4 separate regions of the Homo sapiens genome follow, and regions 1, 3 and 4 are each linked to region 2. The links are contacts of gene promoters, found by promoter capture Hi-C in blood cells and fetal thymus (Javierre and others, 2016). All regions are on one chromosome and are shown on one strand. Each heading gives the region's core, a stretch centred on a gene start or on the middle of the fragment in contact. The rest is flanking DNA. Distances are from core to core; before and after follow the strand shown.

Region 1 (5,597 bases), core at 3,098-5,597, 560 kb after region 2:
GAGCCGAAATCGTGCCACTGCAGTCCAGCCTGGGCGACAGAGCGAGACTCTGTCTCAGAAAAAAAAAAAGAAAAGAAAAGAAAAAGAAAGAAAGGGCCGGGAGCAGTGGCTCACGCCTGTAAGTAATCCTAGCACTTTGGGAGGCGAGGCGGGTGGATCACTTGAGGTCAGGAGTTTGAGACCAGCCTGGCCAACATGGCGAAACCTCGTCTCCACCAAAAATACAAAAACTAGCCGGGTGTGGTGGCAGGGGCTTGTAATCCCAGCTACTCGGGAGGCTGAGGCAGGAGAACTGCTTGAACCCGGGAGGTGGAGGTTGCAGTGAGCCGAGATCGCACCATTGCACTCCAGCTTGGGTGACAAGAGCGAAACTCAGTCTCAAAAACAAACAAACAAACAAAAAAAGGAAGGCTCGGCGCAGTGGCTCACACCTGTATGTAATCCCAGCACTTTGGGAGGCCGAGGTGTGACGAGGCCAGCCTGGCTAACACGGTGAAACCCCGTCTCTACTAAAAATACAAAAAATTAGGCGGGCGTGGTGGCACGCGCCTGTAGTCCCAGCTACTCGGAAGGACGAGCCAGGAGAATCGCTTGAACCCGGGAGGTGGAGGTTGCAGTGAGCCAAGATCGCGCCATTGCACTCCAGCCTGGGCGATAGAACGAAACGCCTTCTCAAAAAAAAAAAAAAAAAAAAAAAAAAGGAAAAAAGCACATATTATTTTACTCAAATTCCATTTTGGGAAATCTTTTCTTTTTGTTTTTTGTTTTGTTTTGTTTTTGAGACGGAGTCTCGCTCGGTCACTTAGGCTGGAGTGCAGTGGCGCGATCTCCTCTCACTGAAGCCTCTGCCACCGGGGCTCAAGCGATCCTCCCCCCGCCTCAGCTGCGGAGTTGCTGGGACCACAGACGCGAACTACCACGCCTGGCTTTTTTTTTTTTTTTTTTACCTTGTATTTTTAGTCGAGATGGCGTTTCGCCGTGTTGCCCAGGCTGGTCTGGAACTCCTGGGCTCTAGCAATCCTCCCGCCTCGGACACAAAGCGCCCGGCCTGGGGAATCTTTTCTACAGAAATAAAAGTACTACTTCAAAAGGATGTTTATTTTTATTGTTGCGCTATTTGTCGGGGCTGAGAACGGAAAACAATCTAAACAATCTAAACTATTCAGGTGTCAAAAATACAAGTTATTGGTTTTTTGTTTTTTTGTTTTTTTTGGTTTTTTTGAGACGGAGTCTCGCTCTGTCGCCCAGGCTGGAGTGCAGTGGCGCGATCTCCGCTCACCGCAAGCACCGCCTCCCGGGTTCACGCCATTCTCCTGCCTCAGCCTCCCGAGTAGCTGGGACTACAGGCGCCCGCCACCACGCCCGGCTAACATTTTTAGTACAGACGGGGTTTCACCGTGTTAGCCAGGATGATCTCCATCTCCTGACCTCGTGATCCGCCCGCCTCTGACTCCCAAAGTGCTGGGATTACAGGCGTGAGCTACCGCGCCCGGCCAAAAATACAAGTTTTACCTTTTTTATTGGCTTCAGGTAATGTCCACATGTTAAATGAAAACAACAAAAATCCAAATACAGAAACTCGTACATACAAGACTGGAAAATGAAGCTGTATTACCTGAAAGGAGCGGAGTGGTGATGGGGCAAGAGAGAATATTATCACGTTTTTCTTATTACATCTTGATAGCCTTTACAATTTGTATCACTTATGTAACAAAACAAACTCAAGTAAAACTGAGAGAATAAAGCTCTGAACCTATGAGCGTTTCCCTAAGTCTTTACACAATGAATATAGTAATGGGGCCACTAGTCGAGGGTGGTAGGAGCGGCGGAGACTCGGTAATATACTGGCCACGCCTACTCTGCCCTGCCAGTCTCTTCTCACGTGTGCCCCTGGAAGGCTCTGCCTTAACGCATGCGTAGTTACCTTAGTTTTCGTCGCCTCTGAGGGGCGCCCCGCGGCTTTGGATTTGACCCCGTCAGGCTACCGTCGCGGTGACCGGAACGGCACTAAAGGTTTGCTTCCGGGCGTTTCTTTTGCTTCCCCTTCCCTCTTTCACGCTTCCTCCCCTCCCCCTCCTCCCTTATCCCTTCGCTTTCGCTCTTTTCCGTCGAGGCCGACCCCTGAGTTGTGAGTCTGGGGTCTGGTTGGTGAAAAAGAGCCCTTGAAGCTGGAAGACGGGAGGTGCGGGGAATACTGTTGAGTTATTTGGTGACCAAAGGCTTATCTGGGACGTTTTGTTTGTGGGAGGGGGTCGGGCGAGGGTGGGAAGGAAGTCTTCCCCAGAGGCGAACGGGGGCGGGGCTGAACTGGGTTTGCGAATGGGTAGGACGCACCCCTAGAATGGGTAGCACGGGGGTGGGCTGGTGTGTGGGCAGAGGAAAATGGAGGCGCTGAAAATCAGATTTTCTTTAACCGTTTGATTAAAAAAGCAGTTCACACGAATGTGTGAAGTATTTGGATTGTGGATATTAGGTACCCACGTTTTATTCCCAGGTTGCTTTACTTCTCTGTACTTTGGGGGAAACCTTTTTGCTGCAAGCTTTCGTGTGTTTGAATATCATAGACTTTTTAAAAAGTAAAATTCCACATGGAAGCAAAGTAATATAAGGGGAACAAGTAATGAAAGAGAAAACACTGAGTTAGTGAGTTCCAAATCAACTCCATCCCCAGGTGGGGTTTTGTTTAAATTAGGCATAGCATACAAAGATTTATCACATTAGTTAAGGAACACATATAGACCACAAAAATATCTTATAGATTGGTTCTCTTCAGTATCCCAAAAGATTATTTTTAAAGTTCGGTTTGTTTTGAGACAGGGTCTCACTTTGTCACCCAAGCTGGAATGCATGGCGCGAACATAGCTCACTACAGCAGCTACTCCTGGGCTCAAGCGATCCTCCCACTTCAGCCTCCTGAGTAGCTGGAACTAAAGGCGTGCACCACCACACGTGGCTAATTTTTGTATTTTTTTGTAAAGACGAGTCTTGCCATGTTGCCCAGGCTGGTCTTGAACTCCTGCCCTCAAGCGACCCTCCTGCCTCGGCCTCTAAAAGTGCTGAGATTACAGGTGTAAGCCACTGTGCCAGCCCAAAACATTATTTTCAGTAGCTCTCTACTGCTTAATGAATGTTCTCCATGCCGTCTCAAACTCTTAAATCTTTTTCAGGAGTGTTAGCGTACAGCAGAAGATAAGAACTCTTAAAAATCTCAGCATCAGATTCTGGAGAATAGGGAGGGAGAACATGGAATATTTGAATAGAATAACAGGCAGCAGAGTAGGAATTAGTTTTATTAGGGAACTGAAATTCTCTATTGATTGATTGTAGTTATAAGGACTCCAATTTAATTTGTTTTCTGTTCCATGCAGAGGACAAAAGCATGTCTTCCCTTCCTGGGTGCATTGGTTTGGATGCAGCAACAGCTACAGTGGAGTCTGAAGAGATTGCAGAGCTGCAACAGGCAGTGGTTGAGGAACTGGGTATCTCTATGGAGGAACTTCGGCATTTCATCGATGAGGAACTGGAGAAGATGGATTGTGTACAGCAACGCAAGAAGCAGCTAGCAGAGTTAGAGACATGGGTAATACAGAAAGAATCTGAGGTGGCTCACGTTGACCAACTCTTTGATGATGCATCCAGGTGAGAACTCCATGGAAAATAGAAGGAAATCTCTCCATTGGGAGATGTTTTTAGAGAATAATTGTTCATGACATTGAACCAAGCATTTTATTTTATGTTTTGAGACGGAGTCTCGCTCTGTCACCCAAGCTAGAGTGCAGTGGAGTGATCCTGGCTCACTGCAACCTCCACCTCTCGGGTTCAAGTGATTCTCCCACCTCCCCCTCCCGAGTAGCTGGAATTATAGGCATCCGCCACCACACCCAGCTAATTTTTTATATTTTTAGTAGAGACAGGGTTTCACCATGTTGGCCAGGCTGTGTACCAAACATTTTATACTTTATGAAGTACAGATGTTTAGAACCTTACTCTTCCTCAAAGTTTATGGTCAAAAATCTGACCTTACAATCAGCCGTAAATATAATTTTCATCTGTCAGCAGCTAATACATGATCAGCAGTAAGGGAGTCCAAGTCTTAAGTCCTTTCCCCTTCTTCCTCCTGTGCTCTATCTTAGAACAATTGCTTCATTTCCCTAGTAAGATCATCCAGGGAGTGAGGATTGTAAAGAATTTCTGTCTTACGTAACTCTGAAGCATTAGTAAGTTCCCATACCCCCAAAAGATTTGTTTCTGGTGCTCTAGTTGTCACTTAGAATACATTGTTTTTAAATTTATTATACTTTAAGTTCTAGGGTATATGTGCACAACGTGCAGGTTTATTACATATGTATACATGTGCCATGTTGGTGTCACTTACATTAGGTATATCTCCTAATACTATCCCTCCCCCTTCCCCCCACCCCACGACAGGCCCCAGTATGTGACGTTCCCCATCCTGTGTCCAGGTGTTCTCATTGTTCAATTCCCACCTATGAATGAGAACGTGCGGTGTTTGGTTTTCTGTCCTTGCTATAGTTTGCTCAGAATGATGGTTTCCAGCTTCATCCATGTGCCTACAAAGGACATGAACTCATCCTTTTTTATGGCTGCATAGTATTCCATGGTGTATATGTGCCACATTTCTTAATCCAGTCTATCATTGATGGACATTTGGGTTGGTTTAAAGTCTTTGCTATTGTGGATAGTGCCGCAATAAACATACGTGTGCATGTGTCTTTATAGCAGCATGATTTATAATCCTTTGGGTATATACCCAGTAATGGGATTGCTGGGTCAAATGGTATTTCTAGTTCTAGATCCTTGAGGAATCGCCACACTGTCTTCCACAATGGTTGAACAAGTTTACAGTCCCACCAACAGTGTAAAAGTGTTCCTGTTTCTCTACATCCTCTCCAGCACCTGTTGTTTCCTGACTTTTTAATGATCGCCATTCTAACTGGTGTGAGACGGTATCTCATGGTGGTTTTGATTTGCATTTCTCTGATGGCCACTGATAATGAGCATTTTTTTATTTTATTTTTATTTTATTTTATTTTTTTTTTAGACAGAGACTTGCTCTGTCTCACCCAGGCTGGAGTACAGTGACGTGATCTCGGCTCACTGCAGCCTCCGCCTCCCGAGTTCAAGCAGCTCTCCTGTCTCAGCCTCCGGAGTAGCTGGGACGACAAGCGTGTGCCACCACACCCGGCTAATTTTTGTATTTTTAGTAGAGATGGAGTTTTACCATGTCGGCCAGGCTGGGGAGGTCAAATTCCTGACCTCAAGTGATCTACCTGCCTCAGCCTCCCAAATTGCTGGGATTGCAGGTGTGAGCCACCACTGCCAGCCAGGATACATTTTCAGATAACAGCAAGGTAAATAATGAGGTAAGGGTGAAAGTACTGTACTTTGGGCTTACTTTGGATTTTTGAGGAACTAGTCTGGAAACTAAACCACTATTTAAAACATTTTTCTATAGAAAAAGCATTCTAAATTCTAAACAGAGACACTTTGGAATGTGGCCCATTTAAATTGAGGACTGTCTATACTTAAATATATATACATCGTAATGGATTCTATATCTCTTAATTCCTCTACTG
Region 2 (5,163 bases), core at 1,597-4,096:
CACTTGGCCTCCCAAAGTGCTGGGATTACAGGTGTGAGCCACCGCACCTGGCCCTGTATTTTTAGTAGAGATGGGGTTTCACCATGTTGGTCAGGCTGGCCAGTTTCTAACTCTTGACCTCGGGCGATCCACCGGCCTCGGCCTCCCAAAGTGCTGGGATTACAGGCATGAGCCACCGCGCCCGGCCTTAGGTTGATGATTTCTTACAAAAGTAAACATATTCTTACCATATGATGTAACAATTGTGCTCCTTCGTGTTTACCCAAGGAGTTGAAAATATATTCACCCCAAAAGCTGTACAGAGATGTTTGTAACAGCTTTATTCATACTTGCAAAAATGTGGAAGCAACCAAGATGTCCTTCAGGTGAATGGATAAATAAAACTGGCACATCTGGACAGTGAAATATTATTCAGCACTAAAATGAAATGAGCTATCAAGCCATGAAAAGACATGGAAGAAACTGAAATGCATTTTTTTTTTTTTTGAGGTGGAATCTCATTCTGTTGCCCAGGCTGGAGTGCAGTGGCCTGATCTTGGCTCACTGCAACCTCCGCCTCCCAGGTTCAAGTGATTCTCCTGCCTCACCCTCCGGAGTAGCTGGGACTACAGGCGTGCGCCACCATGCACGGCTAATTTTTGTATTTTTAGTAGAGACGGGGGTTTCACTATGTTGGCCAGGCTGGTCTCGAACTCCTGACCTCGTGATCCACCCACCTCGGCCTCCCAAAGTGCTGGGATTACAGGCATGAGCCACCGTGCCCCGCCTGAAATGCATATTATTAAGTGAAAAAAGCCAGTCTGAAAAGGCTACATACTGAATGATTTCACCTATATGACATTCGGGAAAAGGCAAAACTATGAAGACAGTAAAAAGATTAGTAGTCGCTAGGGGAATAAGGGGGAGGGAAGGATGAATAGGTGGAACACAGAGGTTTTTAGAGCAGTGATACTGCTCTGTATGATACTGTAATGGTGGATACATGCACATTTGTCCAAACTCAAGGTATAACACCAAGAGCGAACCCTAATGTAAACTATGGGCTTTGGGTGATAATGTGTCAGTGTAGGTTTGTCAGTTGTAACAGATGTATCGTTCTGGTGCGTGACATTGATAATGGGGGAGGGTATTCATGTGTGGGGGCAGGTGGTATATGGAATTCCTTGTGCTTTCCACACAATTGCCGTGAATCTAAAACTGCTCTAAAAATAGTCTATAAAAAAGTGGGTCTTTGGCTAGAGTTACAGAAAAAAAAAAAATGTGGGGTCAGGACCAGGCATGGCGGCTCAAGCTTATAATCCCAGCACTTCGGGAGGCTGAAAGCAGGAGGACTGCTTGAGGCTAGGAGTTTGAGACCAGCCTGGGCAACATAGGGAGACTCCCCCTCTCAAAAAAATGTTGTTGTTGTTGTTTTGTTTTTTTAGCTAGGTGTGGTGGTGCAGGCCTGTAGTCCCAGCTACTTGTGCTGCTGAGGCAGGAGGACCACTTGAGTCTGGGGGATTGAGGCTGCTGTGCGATATGATAGTGCCACTGCACTCTAGCCTTGGCAGGGACAGAGCGAGACTGTATTTTAGAGCCTTTGCACTTGCTGTTCCTAATGCCAGCATGTTCCGCTCCCCGTCTCGCATATCTGCTTGGTTGCTTTTTTCTCAATGTTCAGATCGAGTTATTTCTTTCGAGAAGACTTCCTGGTTCACCATACCACCATTCTTATACTGGCGCGTGCGTGCCGTGCACACGTACACACACGCGCGCACACACACACACCCCTTTCTCCCTTACCCTGCTTCACCTTTTTACAGAATTTAATACTGTCTGAAATGTACTTGTTGGTGGTGTCCTGCCACTAAATCCCGGAGGGAACGGATTTTTGTCTGTTTTGCTCCCCATGATCTAAAACAGTACTTGGCACAAGAGGTTCAACAACTCGTTGAATTAATGAATAGTGGACATGAACTTGACAAAACAGGTTCCCTGCCTCAAGAGGCATGGCCGCAGTGAGGAGACGTTAAAAGAATTAAAACTGTATATGTTTAGTGGGAACACAGGAGCCTTTAAATTAGCTCAGAGGATTTACATAGATACCTGCGATAAAATGGTTCGTATAAGGTTCATATAATAGTTACGTAAGACTCTTGAAAACTGTAATGTATTATGCAATTTTAAGATTGTATCATAGCTGGCGAAAATGAGGTCACATCTTGCCATTCTTTTTTCGCCTCGAAAAATTTTATGAGGAAAATTTCCTTTCACTTCCTCATTTATTTCCTTTTCCTGTAACCTAAATGGTCAAGCGGCTGTGAATGTTATCTTCTATGGGCAGCAATAAATACGGTTTGGTGTCGGAGTCTGCGTAGTGAATGGCTCACTGGATCTGGCGCATGCGCATCTTTTGTGGTGCCGCAAGATGGCTGCCAGCCATTTTGTCGCGCGTTGCTCCTCCGAGGAGTTGGGGGCGATGGCTGCAGCCCCCTGAAGACTAACAGTGGTCTCAGTGGTGGGAATTTTCTGTCTCTGTTGTGTGAGCTGAACACACCCAAGAGAGCGGCCAAAAGCAGCAAAGGGCGGGGCAGGGGAACCCCCCCACCCGGCTAACCTTAGTTATACCAGCTCCCTCACCCATCCCTCCCAGTTTTTCCTTCCATCCCGTTACACGCTTATCTTCTGCGCAGGCGCAAAAATAATCGTAGCGCCTCCTGGGCCCTGGGGGCTTCAGAGCTCCTGCGCGCGCTTGTGGTTCTCCACTCCTGATTGGTCAGGTTGCCCCGCCATCACGCCTCCCTCTGCTTTCAAGGTTGAGAAGGAAGCAGGGGTAGGGGGGTGGGGCCAAGTGGCGCGTGCGCGATACTGTTGCTGCCCCTTTGCTGCTATTGCGTTGCAAAAAAAATCCTGACTAGGTAGCCTTGGACCTTTTCTGTGCTAGCGAGTCTAAAGGAAAGAAAGATTTCTGCAACTGAAGGGGCAGTCGGGTAGTATTACATTTAAGATATTAACGCCCGACCTGGCTCACAGGAGTGTGGGAACAGGGGCGGGGAAGGGCCTTAGCACTGAGAGCCGAAAAGTATAAAACGATTAGTTTCGGCGTCAGGCGTTTTGAAAGGCTTTGCAGGTCCTGTTTTCTGCGTAATTTTTCCGTGATTACTGACTGGTTTAAACACGACCCCTTGAACAATATTGATAAAACCTCCGAGACCCGCAGCCCCTCCTTGCAGCGTGTAGGAGCTGCCAGCGTGCCCAGCAGCTGGTGTTCCCGTCCGTACCTCCAGAAGAGCCCAGCGCGTGCACCATCCCCACCCCCTAGCTTCCCTCCCCACCTACGGCTTTCACGCACTCGCAGTGATTGTTTTGCCCGCTCCCGCCGCCGCCGCCGCCGCCGCCGCCAGAGGAGCAGCAGCGCTTGTGCAAACCGGGAAGATGGCGGCCGGCGGCGGCGGAGGCAGCAGTAAGGCCTCCTCCTCGTCGGCCTCTTCGGCAGGGGCTCTGGAGTCCTCGTTGGATCGAAAATTCCAGTCGGTAACCAACACCATGGAGTCCATTCAAGGCTTGTCGTCTTGGTGTATAGAGAACAAAAAACACCACAGTACTATCGTCTATCATTGGATGAAGTGGCTCCGGAGATGTGAGTGTTGGGGGTGACTAGGGAAGGGAAGACTGGGGAAATGGAAGGAAGTGTGGCCTGAAACGCTTGGGGTTTTCCCACGGAGCCGCAGCATTTGGTTGGGGTTGTTCACATTAAAGGTTTGACCCCAGTGGTCCCAAACCCAGACTCCATTCCTAGCCAGGATTGTCCTGAATTGCAGGAGACTCATTTCTTGGGTTTTTTAGCCATTGAATTGTTGTGACCTTGGGCCGTTGGGCCCAGATCCATGGAGATTTACGTATATTGTTTTTAATATTTCAGAGCCTTGTAAGGTGTATTGATTTTTCCGAACCTTCGCGGAAATTGTAGCGTCTGTTTATTTCTTACAGGCCTTGACGTGTTAATGATTTCTGGCTTTCCTGATGGTAGGCGAGCTGTGGTTTTAAGCAGTAGTAAATCCAGTGATGTTTAATGAGGAGTGCCTTGTCTGGATGAATGTATCTAAAACTTGTGATGTGTAGTAAGGAGAGCCTTACCTGGATGAATGTTAAGAAGCAGCATGAGCTCTACATAGATCTGAGGCACCACCGGGTTTTCCCTGTACCTGTGTTTGCTGCAATAAAATACAGGTTTCTTGGATACTGACCAGAAACAACTGCGATACAGTAGTCAGTATCATCGTTAATACCTTCAAATATAAAGCGTGTCCAGTTCCTCTTTTTTTTTGAGACGGAGTTTTGCTCTTGTCGCCCAGGCTGGAGTGCAGTGGCGCGATCTCGGCTCACTGCAACCTCCACCTCCCGGGTTCAAGCGATTCTCCTGTCTCAGCCTCGCGAGTAGTCGGGATTACAGGCGCCCGCCACCATGTCCGGCTAATTATTTGTATTTTTAGTAGAGACGGGGTTTCATCATTGTGGCCTGGCTGGTCTCGAACTCCCGACCTCAGGTGATCCACCTGCCTCGGCCTCCCAAAGTGCAGGGATTACAGACGTGAGCCCCCCGTGCCCGGCCCCGTTACTTTTTAATTACCTGAAATACCTTTTTACACAATTGAGTTGATCTCATGGGTAATGTGCACAGGAAATGTGCTTTTTGAATATGTAGTACCTTTTTCTCCAGTTATGTTTTTTTTGTCTTTATCCTGGAGATTTTTCCATTTTGCTGCTTTACTGCAGAAACGAGCTCTGTTAAAGCATGGATTGTTTGCAGAACGTTTCAAATCTTATAGGAGGAAGTGTGGAGAAGTTACTGTTTCCTGCTGAGAAGAGAGGGTTAACTCATACTCCATATACATCTATTAGAATTTTTCTTTGCTTCCTGCCTGCGGCATTTCACCAGTGAGACCCATCATCCAGTTATTCTGCCTTATTCCACTTCTGCCATTGCTCCTGTAGTGTTTTGATTTGTTTACCTTTTAGAGAACAGATAGATAAAACTTGCAAAATTATAGGCCCCATGCTTCGAACTATTTGTGTTTAAAGTTTTGGGAGGGATGTTTTGTGGTTCTTTGAATAATAATGCAGAGAAATTAGTAGATACCGGACAGAATTACCTGTGTTTACCAATAACCGATCAAAGAGTTA
Region 3 (5,710 bases), core at 3,211-5,710, 640 kb after region 2:
GGCAGCAAAGCTTGGTCTGCTGGCTCCCGTTCTCTAGCCTCCCCATCAGCATCTCTTGCATCTGTGTCCTGAGGGTGCTCATCTGGGCCTGCCAGAACCTCATGGTTTTCAGGGATGACTGCTTCTGCAGTCCCGGCCTTACCAGGGGCTGGATCCTCAGGCTGATGGTATTCCATGGTCAAAAGGGACTTGGCTGAGGGGCACTGAAGGTGTTTACTAACCTCAGGGACTTGCCTAAGCCAGGCTTGGGATGCAAAAGAGTGACCTGTCCAATAAGAAGGAAATCAGTGGGCTGGAAAGCAAACTAACCCAGAAAAGTCTTGGAAAAGGAATGTAGTGTAGAAGGCTGGCTAGTGTTTGTGCAGTAACTCCTGGCTATGGGCAGTATATGTGTAAACAGAAGGGCCCCGTGCTGAGCTCTTTCCACCTCTAACTTGCTGTGACCAGATGAGACCAAGAGGTCGTGGGGCTTCCAGACTTGGGAGGGAAGACTGGTGGGATTGAACACATGGGTGGAGTCAGCTTCCCTGAAACAGATCATGACAGGGAAGGGAGGAAAGACAGAGAGAAAGGGAGAGCACAAAGGAGAAAGAAGGATAAGAGGTGGAGAAAGAAATGTTAAATCTACGCTAATGGTTATTAATATGATGATCTTTAGCTTACTCTAATAGGCATCACATCAGTAACCCCCTCATAGCCATGACAGAGATAATTCCTCTGCCCTACCCCACACCCTGCCCCTTCACACAACATACTAAGAATACACAGTGCTTGTATGTTTAGGGATACCTTCTCTCTGCCTCACCCAAGGATAAAAAGATTAAGTCACATAGTACTTGGGGTGAAGAATGGAGGAGGCACAGAGAGTCAGTTTCATGCCCCTAAAGGTGAAATGCTGGTGAGGAAGGGGAAGTCTTCCACCTCAAAGGGCTCTACTGAACCTTACACAATCCCAAACCACAGTATAAAGGCCTTGGGAGGGGTTTCCTGTAAGCTGGGAGGGGAAATGTAGGTGGTGGGGGCTGGAATCAGAGACTGGTTTTGATAAATAACTTCAGATTAGGGGCACAAAAAGCACTCCCCACAAGTTCTTCCAGTAAGCTTCTCTTTAAAAAAAATTAATAAAGATATCAAATTTCTTTTAATTAAACTGAGACAGGGTCTTGCTTTGTTGCCTAGGCTGGTCTTAACTCCTGGGGGCCCAAGCAATCCGCCCTCCTCAGCCTGCCAAAGGACTGGGATTACAGGCATGAGCCACGGTGCCTGGACCCAGTAAGCATCTCTTGACAGCTAGCATTGAGACAGCAACTTTTCCTCAGTTCATTTTTTTTCCCCAGAAACTACCTAAACCCAGAGGTACTCTCTTGCCTGCTATTTCTATGAAATATGAAAATGCTGATTATTAATTTACATAACAATACTTCCTGTACATTCACCTACCTAAAGTTTTATGTCTATTCCCATCCAAGTGGTTTTATTTATTTATTTTTATTTTTTTGAGACAGAGTTTTGCTCTTGTTGCCTAGGTTGGAGTGCAATGGTGCGACCTCGGCTCACTGCAACCTCTGCCTCCTGGGTTCAAGTGATTCTCCTGCCTCAGCCTCCCGAGTAGCTGGGATTACAGGCATGCAACACCATGCCCAGCTAATTTTGTATTTTTTAGTAGAGATGGAGTTTCTCCATGTTGGTCAGGCTGGTCTTGAACTTCCGACCTCAGGTGATCCTCCCACCTTGGCCTCCCAAAGTGCTGGGATTACAGGCATGAGCCACCGTGCCCAGTCCTCTCCAGGTCATTTTAGATGTGAACACCGGACCTGTTTAACCTGTTCTCTATCAGCACTGGAGGCACATTGAGGCAAGCACAGATAGACATTTAACTAATACTGTGGGTATAAATAATAAAAAACCACAAATCCTGCCCTTTGGAAAACATCTCCCTTCAATCTCCTTGCTCCCCTCCCACTCTTTATCAGGGAGAGAAACAGGGAGAAATTAAACTAGTTAGGGGCCAGGCGCGGTGGCTCACGCCTGTAATCCCAGCACTTTGAGAGGCTGAGGCGGGCAGATTACTTGAGGTCAGGAGATCGAGACCATCCTGGCTAACATGGCAAAACGCTGTCTGTATTGAAAGTACAAAAATTAGCCAGGTGTGTTGGCACGTGCCTGTAGTCACAGCTGCTCGGGAGGCTGAGGTGGGAGAATTGCTTGAACCTGGGAGGCAGGGGGTTGCAGTGAGCTGAGATGGTGACACTGCACTACAGCCTGGGTGACAGAGCGAAACTCCATCTCAAAAATAAAATAAAATAAAATAAAATAAAATAAAATAAAATAAAATAAAATAAAATAAATTAAACTAGTTAGAAATCTTGTCTTTTCTCCACCCTCCTCCCAGCCTGAGACTGCTTCCTTCTTGTAAACCTACAGGAATTTGGGGCTAGGGGAAGGCCTGGGAGATGAGGTTGAGGAACATTAAAGTTACTGAAACAAAATAAGCCTAGTCACTCAAATTGATTATCCTCTTGATTCACATATGTTTATGCTAGCTGCATATCATTTACGTGTTGTTAATTTAGAATCAGAGTAGCAAAAATTGCCTGCAGGCCTTATGCTTTTTTTTCTCTCTCTTTCTCTCTCTCCTTTCCTTCTCCCCTTAAATGACACTTAGGGTGAACCTCAAAGCAGATGCCAGAGCCTGGAAAAGTGAAAAAGCTTGAAGAAAAGCAGGCCTTGGCCGGGCACAGTGCCTCACACCTGTATCCCAGCACTTTGAGAGGCCGAGGCGGGCGGATCACCTGAGGTCAGGAGCTCAAGATCGGCCTGGCTAACATGGCGAAACCCCATCTCTACTAAAAATACAAAAATTAGCCGGGCACGGTGGCGGGCACCTGTAATCCCAGCTACTCAGGAGGCTGAGGCAGGAGAATTGCTTGAACCCCGGAGGTGGAGGTTGCAGTAAGCCAAGATTGTGCCTCTGCACTCCAGCCTGGGTGACAAGAGTGAGACTCTTGCCTCCAAAAAAAAAAAGAAAAAAAGAAAAAAAAAAAAGAAAAGCAGGCCTTATTTTTTATATTTTCTCTCCAGTGCCAGAAATGATCAATGATGAAGTGGGGGTTGGGCAGCTAGCTGGCTGGAGAGGTGAGCCAAAGGAACCCAGGAGTGGACACCTGAGGGAGTGGGGTCTCAGAGGAACTGGGCAGAGCTAAATGGGCTAAGTCTTAAGAGGCAGGGGCAGGAAATGTAATGGAGGCTTTCTACTCTACAACGTCCAATCCTGCTGGGGAGGGCATGGAGTATTTCAGAGTAGGAAAGAATGAGGGAGAGGATAGTCAGATAAATCAAAGTTTCATTCTTTTCCTCCTCTTTCTTAGCTCGTCAAATCCTACACTTTCTCTCCAGCTGGAATTATGGTGGTGAGTGAGGGAGTTAAAATAATCCTGGCTCCTCCCTAATCAATGGCAGTAGAGAGCCGAAAGTTGGAAGAAGCACGTAAAACAGGTATGTAGCTTCAAGAAGACACTCCTTCTCTGTAGGAACAGTTCCCTTACTGTCTCACACCAATCTCCTTCTTAGTCTGACCTATGTCTTTGTGCAATCAATAGTTTAGATTTTCATCTCAGAATATGTCAACCATGGCCACAGTGCCCTGTATACTTGCTCACAAGGAGAGGGGGAAGGTTTCGTGCTTTCATTAAAAGGAGGAGGACCAAGCAGCATCCCCTTTACATGTCTCTCCTGACTTAGCTCCTCTAAGCAATCCAGACTTGCAGACCAAAGGTGGAAGGACAGCAGGTGTCAGCTCCCCAAAGCTGGAGAGGAAATAGAGAAGGGTGGGAGAAGAGGTGAAGAAGATGATTAAAATAAAGTTTTTACCTTAAAGAAGGGGGTGCTGTTCCAAGATTGAGAAGGAGGGTTCAGCCGTGGCAATGAGATGGGGGAGATAGGTGCAATGAAGGGGGCTGCCAGTGCCAGCTGCCTTCCAGCTGTCAACGCCTGAGCTTATACAGGTTTACACAGCTTTATAAGCGACGGTCCAGGCTGGGTTGTGGCCACTTCCGGACTCACGCCCAGTACTGGGGGCACTGGAGGAGGGTGAAGGCAGGCAGGGACACAGCCAAGGTGCTCCAGGTCGCTCAGAGAGTCTTCAGGATTCCTGAGTCGCCGAGTCTATGGCATGCGCTCCGGGCCCTGACTACAAGCTGGTTTTCAAAGGAAGTTTGTGGTTTTTCTTTTCTTCTCTCTCTCTTTTTTGTTCTCATCAGGACGAAGAAAAATTAGGCAAGGACAAGCTCCCTGGAGGAGGAGGGGCCTGCCCAGCGCTGGTGGATTTCCATCAGGACTTTCTGACCCGGTCAGCAGCTTTGTGATCAGCAGAGAGGGAGCGAGAAACAGGAGAGAAAAACAACAGACCCTTTCTCTTCCCTCTGCCTGCCTCTAGAAGGGACGGAGCGCTTGTGCCTCTCTGGTGAGAATAGGGAAGAGCAAGTGCCCTTGCTAAGTAGGGAGGAGAAGGGCTGGACAGAAGCAGCTTGTTGGATCTGGGCTCTCTCTCTGGGTATGGCAGTCCTTTGCTCTGGATCCACAGAAGCAGGAGCAAAGAGCACGATATTTGCATGTATTACTCAATTAATGTTAAAAACAAACAAACAAACCCAGCTCTTTTCCCTCTGGAGCCCTCCAGAGAGCTCCTTTCCAAGTCCTTGCTGTATCATTTTTAAGTCTAGAAATGAAACTGGTTGGGTTGTGCACCTGGTAGAGTGCAGAGGGTGTGGTAGAAGCCCCAGGCTCTGGGCGCGATGGCTGACGCCTGTAATCCCAGCACTTTGGGAAGCCAAGGCGGGCGGATCACAAGGTCAAGAGATCAAGACCAACCTGGCCAACATAGTGAAACCCCATCTCTACTAAAAATACAAAAATTAGCAGGGCATGGTGGCACATGCCTGTAGTCCCAGCTACTCGGGAGGCTGAGGCAGGAGAATCGCTTGAACCCGGGAGGTGGAGGTTGCAGTGAGCCAAGATCCTGCCACTGCACTCCAGCCTGAAGACGGAGCAAGACTCCGTCTCAAAAAGAAGAAGAAGAAGAAAAGAACTGGCAGAGCAGGCAGGAGATCCAACACGCCTGTGCTCTGGATCTTGGTTCCACTGCAGGCCTCTCATCAGTCACCTCCTCTCGATTTACAGCTGGGGAAGCAGGAAAAGCTGGTGTGAGGCTGACGGTAGGAAATAAAGGGATAGATAAATAAATGAGGGAATTTTTGATGATGAGTGTCCATTTATTTGCAGTACCTGCACTACTCTGCGGCTGGAAAGTGGCAGTTAAGGGAGGTTGGAACCTAACTCCACATTCTGAAGGGTTCCCTAAACTCTATGTACAGGGCCGCCACAGGATGAAATTTCAAGCAACTCTAAAGGCTGAAAGAGCAATTGGAACAATTAGGGTGGCAGAGAGCAAAAAGCCAAGGTTACAACCGTCCAAGAAAGGAAGAAGATATTTGCCGAGGCTGTAGAAAAAAACAGGCTACAGAGTTGCAAAGGGAGAAGCAGCAGGAGTTGGCAGGAGACTGTAGGTGTTAACAAGAGGGGTCAAAGATTATTCTAATGTTCTCCTAACATGAACAACCACAAAATTGGTGGCGACTGAGTCAGTTTGGTAAAGGGCAGAATTTGTAGAAAGAAGATGATCTGTTTTGCCAAGTGTCATTTAAAATGTCAC
Region 4 (5,522 bases), core at 1,255-3,754, 590 kb after region 2:
AACACAAAAATTAGCTGGGTACAGTGGCATTAAGCTGTAGTCCAGGCTACTCAAGAAGTTGAGGTGGGAGGATCAATTGAAGCCAGGAGGTCGAGGTTGCAGTGAGCTAGATCGTGCCACTGCACTCCAGCCTGGGTGACAGAACGAGACCCTGTCTCAGAAACAAACAAAAAACAGATTTGGTTTTCTTTTTTAATATTACTGTCATACTTTCTGGTTGATTTTTCCTGCCAAAATTAGTTGGTTAAAGAATATATTTCTGAAAATATTTCCCCAAAGTATAACATAATTAGGTAAATCATCTGAGATAGGAAGATATAAAGTCTTATCTAAGGCCCAGCATGGTGGCTCGTGTCTGTAGTCTCAGCACTTTGGGAGGCTGAGGTGGGAGTATCACTTGAGGCCAGGAGTTGGAGATCAGTCTGGGCAACATAGAAAGACTCTTATCTCTTAAAAAAAAAAAATGCTGAGTGTGGTGGTGTGCACCTGTAGCCTTAGCTACTCTGGAGGCTGAGGCAGGAGGATTGCTTGAAGCCCAGGATTTCAAGGTTACAATGAGCTAAGGTCACACCGCTGCACTTCAGCCTGAGTAACAAAGTGGAACACTGTCTATAAAAAGAAAAAAAAGAGGCTACTCTGCCGACAGAGTAGCAATTTTTTTTTTTTTTTTTTGAGATGGAGTCTGGTTCTTTTGCCCAGGCTGGAGTGCAGTGGCACCATCTCAGCTCACTGCAACCTCCGCCTCCCGGGTTCCAGCAATTCTCCTGCCTCAGCCTTCCGAGTAACTGGGGTTACAGGCGACTGCTACCATGCCAGGCTAATTTTTGTATTGTTAGTAGAGACGGGATTTCTCCATGTTGGCCAGGCTGGTCTTGAACTCCTGACCTCAGGTGATCTGCCCGCCTCAGCCTCCCAAAGTGCTGGGATTAAAGGCATGAGCCACCGCGCCTGGCCGTTATTCTTTTATTCCTTTACTTTGTGAATAAACTTGCTTTCACTTTAATAAAAGAAAAAGTATTATCTAAGTCAAAAAACAATGTATGCCAGCGTCCATGCCAGTCAATAATGGGAACTGAGAGTCTAAGCACTTACTCAAAATGTGTCCATTGCTGCTTTTTTTTTTTGAGACGAAGTCTTGTTCTGTTGCCCAGGCTGGAGTACAGTGATGTGATCTCGGCTCACTGCAACCTCCACCTCCTGGTTTCAAGTGATTGTCCTGCGCCTTCCGAGCAGCTGGAATTACAGATGTGCACCACCATGCCCATCTAATTTTTGTATTTTTAGTAGAGACGGGGTTTCACCATGTTGGCCAGGCTGGTCTCAAACTCATGACCTCAAGCAACCTGCCCACTTCGGCCTCCCAAACTGCTGGGATTACAGGCAAGAGCCACTGCGCCCAGCCATTGCTTCCTTTTTATATTGTATAAGTTAAGGATCAGATGTGTGACTGAATACAAGCGTCATAGCTATCATCTTCTCAGTGCTCAATTTCCTTTTTCCTATAGGTGCTGTGAGGAGCAAAGGCCCTGTTGTCCAGTACACACAGGATCTGACCGGTACTGGAACCCAGTTCAAGCCAGTGGAACCCCCACAGCCTACAGCTCCACCTGCCCCACCTTTCCCACCTGCTCCACCTCTATCCCCCCAAGCAGGTGACAGTGAGTGAGTGTTATTCTTTCTTTTTCTTCAGTTTCTTTCATATTATATTTTCCACATCCCTTACTATATGCCCTCTTCTCTAATCTCCTAGAAGCTTGGAAAGCCAGCTTGCCCAGTCACGGAAGCAGGTAGCCAAAAAGAGCACGTCCTTTCGACCAGGATCTGTGGGCTCTGGTCATTCCTCCCCTACATCTCCTGCACTCAGTGAAAATGTCTCTGGTGGGAAACCTGGGATCAACCAGACATATAGGTGAGAAAATCTGAGGCTCTCTGTAGGCAGGATAGCAATGAGTGGTCACTGTGTAGGGGAAGGTTCCTTGGCTGTAAGCGAAGGGCTTAGTTTAAGCTTATGATAGTGAGGAGTTTGGACTTGAAAAGGAAGCTTTACCCATAGAAGTTCCTAAGAAATAGAAAGTAAGAATAATTGAATTGGAAGCTGGGTGCTTGGAAATATGGTATCATCTGAAAGCCATTTGTTAAAACTTCTTGTTGAACATGGTGCCATCATTGCTAAAATAGAAAGGAAACACCACAGCCTCTTTCCTTGGAGTTAGTAAGGACATTTTTAGAACACGCAGCAGACCAAAAAAACATTGGTAGAAGACTGGATTCTACTTCCATAATTCACAGGCAAATACATTTTAGGAAAAGGTATACTGTTGAAATAGAGATGTTAGGCCGGGCGCGGTGGCTCATGCCTGTAATCCCAGCACTTTGGGAGGCCGAGGCGGGTGGATCACCTGAGGTCGGGAGTTCGAGACCAGCCTGGCCAACATGGAGAAACCCTGTCTCTACTAAAAAATACAAAATTAGCCAGGCGTGGTGGCGCATGCCTGTAATCCCAGCTACTCAGGACGCTGAGGCAGGAGAATCGCTTGAACCCAGGAGGCAGAGGTTGTGGTGAGCCAAGATCGTGCCATTGTACTCCAGCCTAGGCAAAAAGAGCGAAACTTGTCTCAAAAAAAAAAAGAGAAATAGAGATGTTATCAGTCAGTGAAGAGTAACCAGGGAGTTTCATTGTCCAGGTTTGGTAGGGCAAGGGAAGATCTTTCTTGAATCATCTTTAGCTTCAGGAGCACAGCTGTTTGAAAGATGAGAGAAATGGCTTAGCTACCTGGAGGGTTAATTATAAAACAGAGGTCCTGTTGCCTTCCGATCTGATCACTTGCATCTCATTTGCAGATCACCTTTAGGCTCCACAGCCTCTGCCCCAGCACCCTCAGCACTCCCGGCCCCTCCAGCACCCCCAGTCTTCCATGGCATGCTGGAGCGGGCCCCAGCAGAGCCCTCCTACCGTGCTCCCATGGAGAAGCTTTTCTACTTACCTCATGTCTGCAGCTATACCTGTCTGTCTCGAGTCAGACCTATGAGGAATGAGCAGTACCGGGGCAAGAACCCTCTGCTGGTCCCGTTACTATATGACTTCCGGCGGATGACAGCCCGGCGTCGAGTTAACCGCAAGATGGGCTTTCATGTTATCTATAAGACACCTTGTGGTCTCTGCCTTCGGACAATGCAGGAGATAGAACGCTACCTTTTCGAGACTGGCTGTGACTTCCTCTTCCTGGAGATGTTCTGTTTGGATCCATATGTTCTTGTGGACCGAAAGTTTCAGCCCTATAAGCCTTTTTACTATATTTTGGACATCACTTATGGGAAGGAAGATGTTCCCCTATCCTGTGTCAATGAGATTGACACAACCCCTCCACCCCAGGTGGCCTACAGCAAGGAACGTATCCCGGGCAAGGGTGTTTTCATTAACACAGGCCCTGAATTTCTGGTTGGCTGTGACTGCAAGGATGGGTGTCGGGACAAGTGAGTTGGTGGGGGGAATTGCTGCCCCTGCTTCCAACTTTGTTATGGTGTCTGTTTCACCTCTTCCTTTGCCTTGTATCTGTACTGCTTTCCCCATCTTCCTTTACCTCCTCCCTCACCTGGAACTCCTGCTATAAGGCCTCCATGAAAGCTATGAGGTAGGGAGGCTGGAGTCTGACATGGCCACACTGAGCAACCTTGGGTACATGTGTATTGTGTTATTTTTGTTCTCTGATCCCCCCGCTCCTTTCCTTTATTTCCCTCTGTCATATAGGTCCAAGTGTGCCTGCCATCAACTAACTATCCAGGCTACAGCCTGTACCCCAGGAGGCCAAATCAACCCTAACTCTGGCTACCAGTACAAGAGACTAGAAGAGTGTCTACCCACAGGGTAAGTGGTCAAGGAATGGCACAGTACCTCAGAGAGACTGAGGAGCATGTTCTTGTTTTTCTGTGCTTATAGAAATCATCAGAAATCTAAAAATTGGAACCAAAAATAGAATACCAGATGAGGCATTTTATTAATTAGATCTTATTTCATGACTTCCAAAACACATTTTTTTTCTTGGACCTTCCTTGAAATGAAGACATAGAATGATTGAATAGTATCTAGCAATTTTCTGTTGCAAAAAAAGATTATCTTAATTTCATAGCTAAATGAATGTCTTAACAGATTGTGATTTACACTTGTAAGTGAAATGTGTTCAGAGAGGAGAAGTAGGCAGGGACCTGATTACATAGGGCTTTGTAAATCAGAATGAAAAAAGTTAGAATCAGGCTGGCACAGTGGCTCACACCTGTAATCCCAGCACTTTCGGAGGCCAAGGTGGGTGGATCACCTGAGGTCAGGAGTTTGAGACCAGCCTGGCCAACCTGGTGAAACCCTGTCTCTACTAAAAATACAAAAATTAGCCGGGGGTGGTGGCGGGTGCCTGCAGTCCCAACTACTTGGGAGGCTGAGGCAGGAGAATCGCTTGAATCCAGGAGGCAGAGGTTGCAGTGAGCCAAGATCATGCCACTGCACTTCAGCCTGGGTGACAAGAGCGAGACTCTGCCTTAAAAAAAAAAAAAGAAAAGTTAGAATCAAATTCATGGTGCTCTTACAGGATTTTAAGCTGCCAAGTGATGTGACCTGCCTTTTTCAGATTACTCTGGCTTCTTTGTAGATCATAGGTCTTAGGATGGCAAAAGTAGATTTTGGAAGACCAATTAGGAGATCGTTATAGGAGTACAGCAGAGAGAGACATTGTTGCAGCTATGACTTGCAATAGAATGGAGGTGATAGTAGAGGTAAGAAGGATAGATTTGGGCTGTATTAATAGGTAGAGCTACAGAATTGGATAGATTATGGAGTGGGGGGAAAGAGTAGAATCAAGGACAATTCCTAAATTTTTGGCTTGAGCATCTTAGTGGTTGTTGGTGCTTTTTACTGAGATGGAAGACCGAAGGAGTAGTAGGTTTGAGTGAAATTCAGTTTTTGTTTTGGCCATGTTAAGTTTGAAATGCCGCCGGGCGCAGTGGCTCACGCCTGTAATCCCAGCACTTTGGGAGGCTGAGGCGGGCGGATCACCTGAGGTCGGGAGTTCAAGACCAGCCTTGACCAACATGGAGAAATCCCGTCTCTACTAAAAATACAAAAAAAAAAAATTAGCCGGGCATGGTGGCGCATGCCTGTAATCTCAGCTACTCGGGAGGCTGAGGCAGGAGAATTGCTTGAATCTGGGAGGCGGAGGTTGTGGTGAGCTAAGATCGCACCATTGCACTCCAGCCTGGGCAACAAGAGCGAAACTCAGTCTCAGAAAACAAAACAAAACAAAAAGTTTGAAATGCCTGTCAGGCAATCCAAGTAGAAATGTCAAGAAGACACTGGGATTTCTGGAGAGAGTGGGATATAAAAATTTAGGAATCATCAGCACAGGAGTATTTAAAGCCTGAATAAGTTCACCTAGAGACAATGTTGATAATAGAGAAGGCGGCTCAGGAGTAAGCCCTGGGTGCCCCAACATTTAAAGGTTGAGCAGAGGAGGTGGAACCAGCATGAGGTTGAG

Evidence for each region. Contacts are between HindIII fragments. The CHiCAGO score rates a contact against its expected background, and 5 or more counts as called.
Region 1: a fragment that was not itself captured here is called in contact with the fragment with the promoter of RPRD2 in region 2 in 1 of 17 cell types (activated CD4 T cells); the score reaches 5.2 in activated CD4 T cells.
Region 3: a contact is called between the fragment with the promoter of MINDY1 here and the fragment with the promoter of RPRD2 in region 2, in 1 of 17 cell types (neutrophils). The highest score is 5.0, in neutrophils.
Region 4: a fragment that was not itself captured here is called in contact with the fragment with the promoter of RPRD2 in region 2 in 1 of 17 cell types (total B cells); the score reaches 7.2 in total B cells.

The regions. Positions count from the first base shown.
Region 1 is chr1:150,924,336-150,929,932 of GRCh38, forward strand. It overlaps SETDB1 (SET domain bifurcated histone lysine methyltransferase 1), which reads left to right and starts at 2,028. Exons shown (of 22, transcript NM_001366418.1): 1 at 2,028-2,182; 2 at 3,369-3,639. The coding sequence starts at 3,380. LOC107985204 (a long non-coding RNA gene) reads right to left here and starts at 2,006. Exons shown (of 3, transcript XR_001738231.2): 1 at 1,925-2,006. The HindIII fragment of the contact is 3,618 bases long and covers 2,539-5,597 here.
Region 2 is chr1:150,361,301-150,366,463 of GRCh38, forward strand. RPRD2 (regulation of nuclear pre-mRNA domain containing 2) reads left to right here and starts at 2,847. Exons shown (of 11, transcript NM_015203.5): 1 at 2,847-3,619. The coding sequence starts at 3,415. RefSeq lists enhancers at 1,142-2,084, 2,065-2,134, 2,295-2,604, 3,355-3,634, 4,118-4,407. The HindIII fragment of the contact is 10,239 bases long and covers 1,290-5,163 here.
Region 3 is chr1:151,002,442-151,008,151 of GRCh38, forward strand. It overlaps MINDY1 (MINDY lysine 48 deubiquitinase 1), which reads right to left and starts at 4,461. Exons shown (of 10, transcript NM_001376665.1): 1 at 3,871-4,461; 2 at 1-265. The coding sequence starts at 176. RefSeq lists enhancers at 3,697-3,956, 4,187-4,366. The HindIII fragment of the contact is 12,196 bases long and covers 2,708-5,710 here.
Region 4 is chr1:150,947,617-150,953,138 of GRCh38, forward strand. It overlaps SETDB1 (SET domain bifurcated histone lysine methyltransferase 1), which reads left to right. Exons shown (of 22, transcript NM_001366418.1): 11 at 1,506-1,662; 12 at 1,751-1,909; 13 at 2,842-3,474; 14 at 3,749-3,865. Among named protein-coding and RNA genes, the nearest start is that of SETDB1, 24 kb to the left of the region's middle. RefSeq lists an enhancer at 2,348-2,492 and a cis regulatory region at 2,420. The HindIII fragment of the contact is 930 bases long and covers 2,040-2,969 here.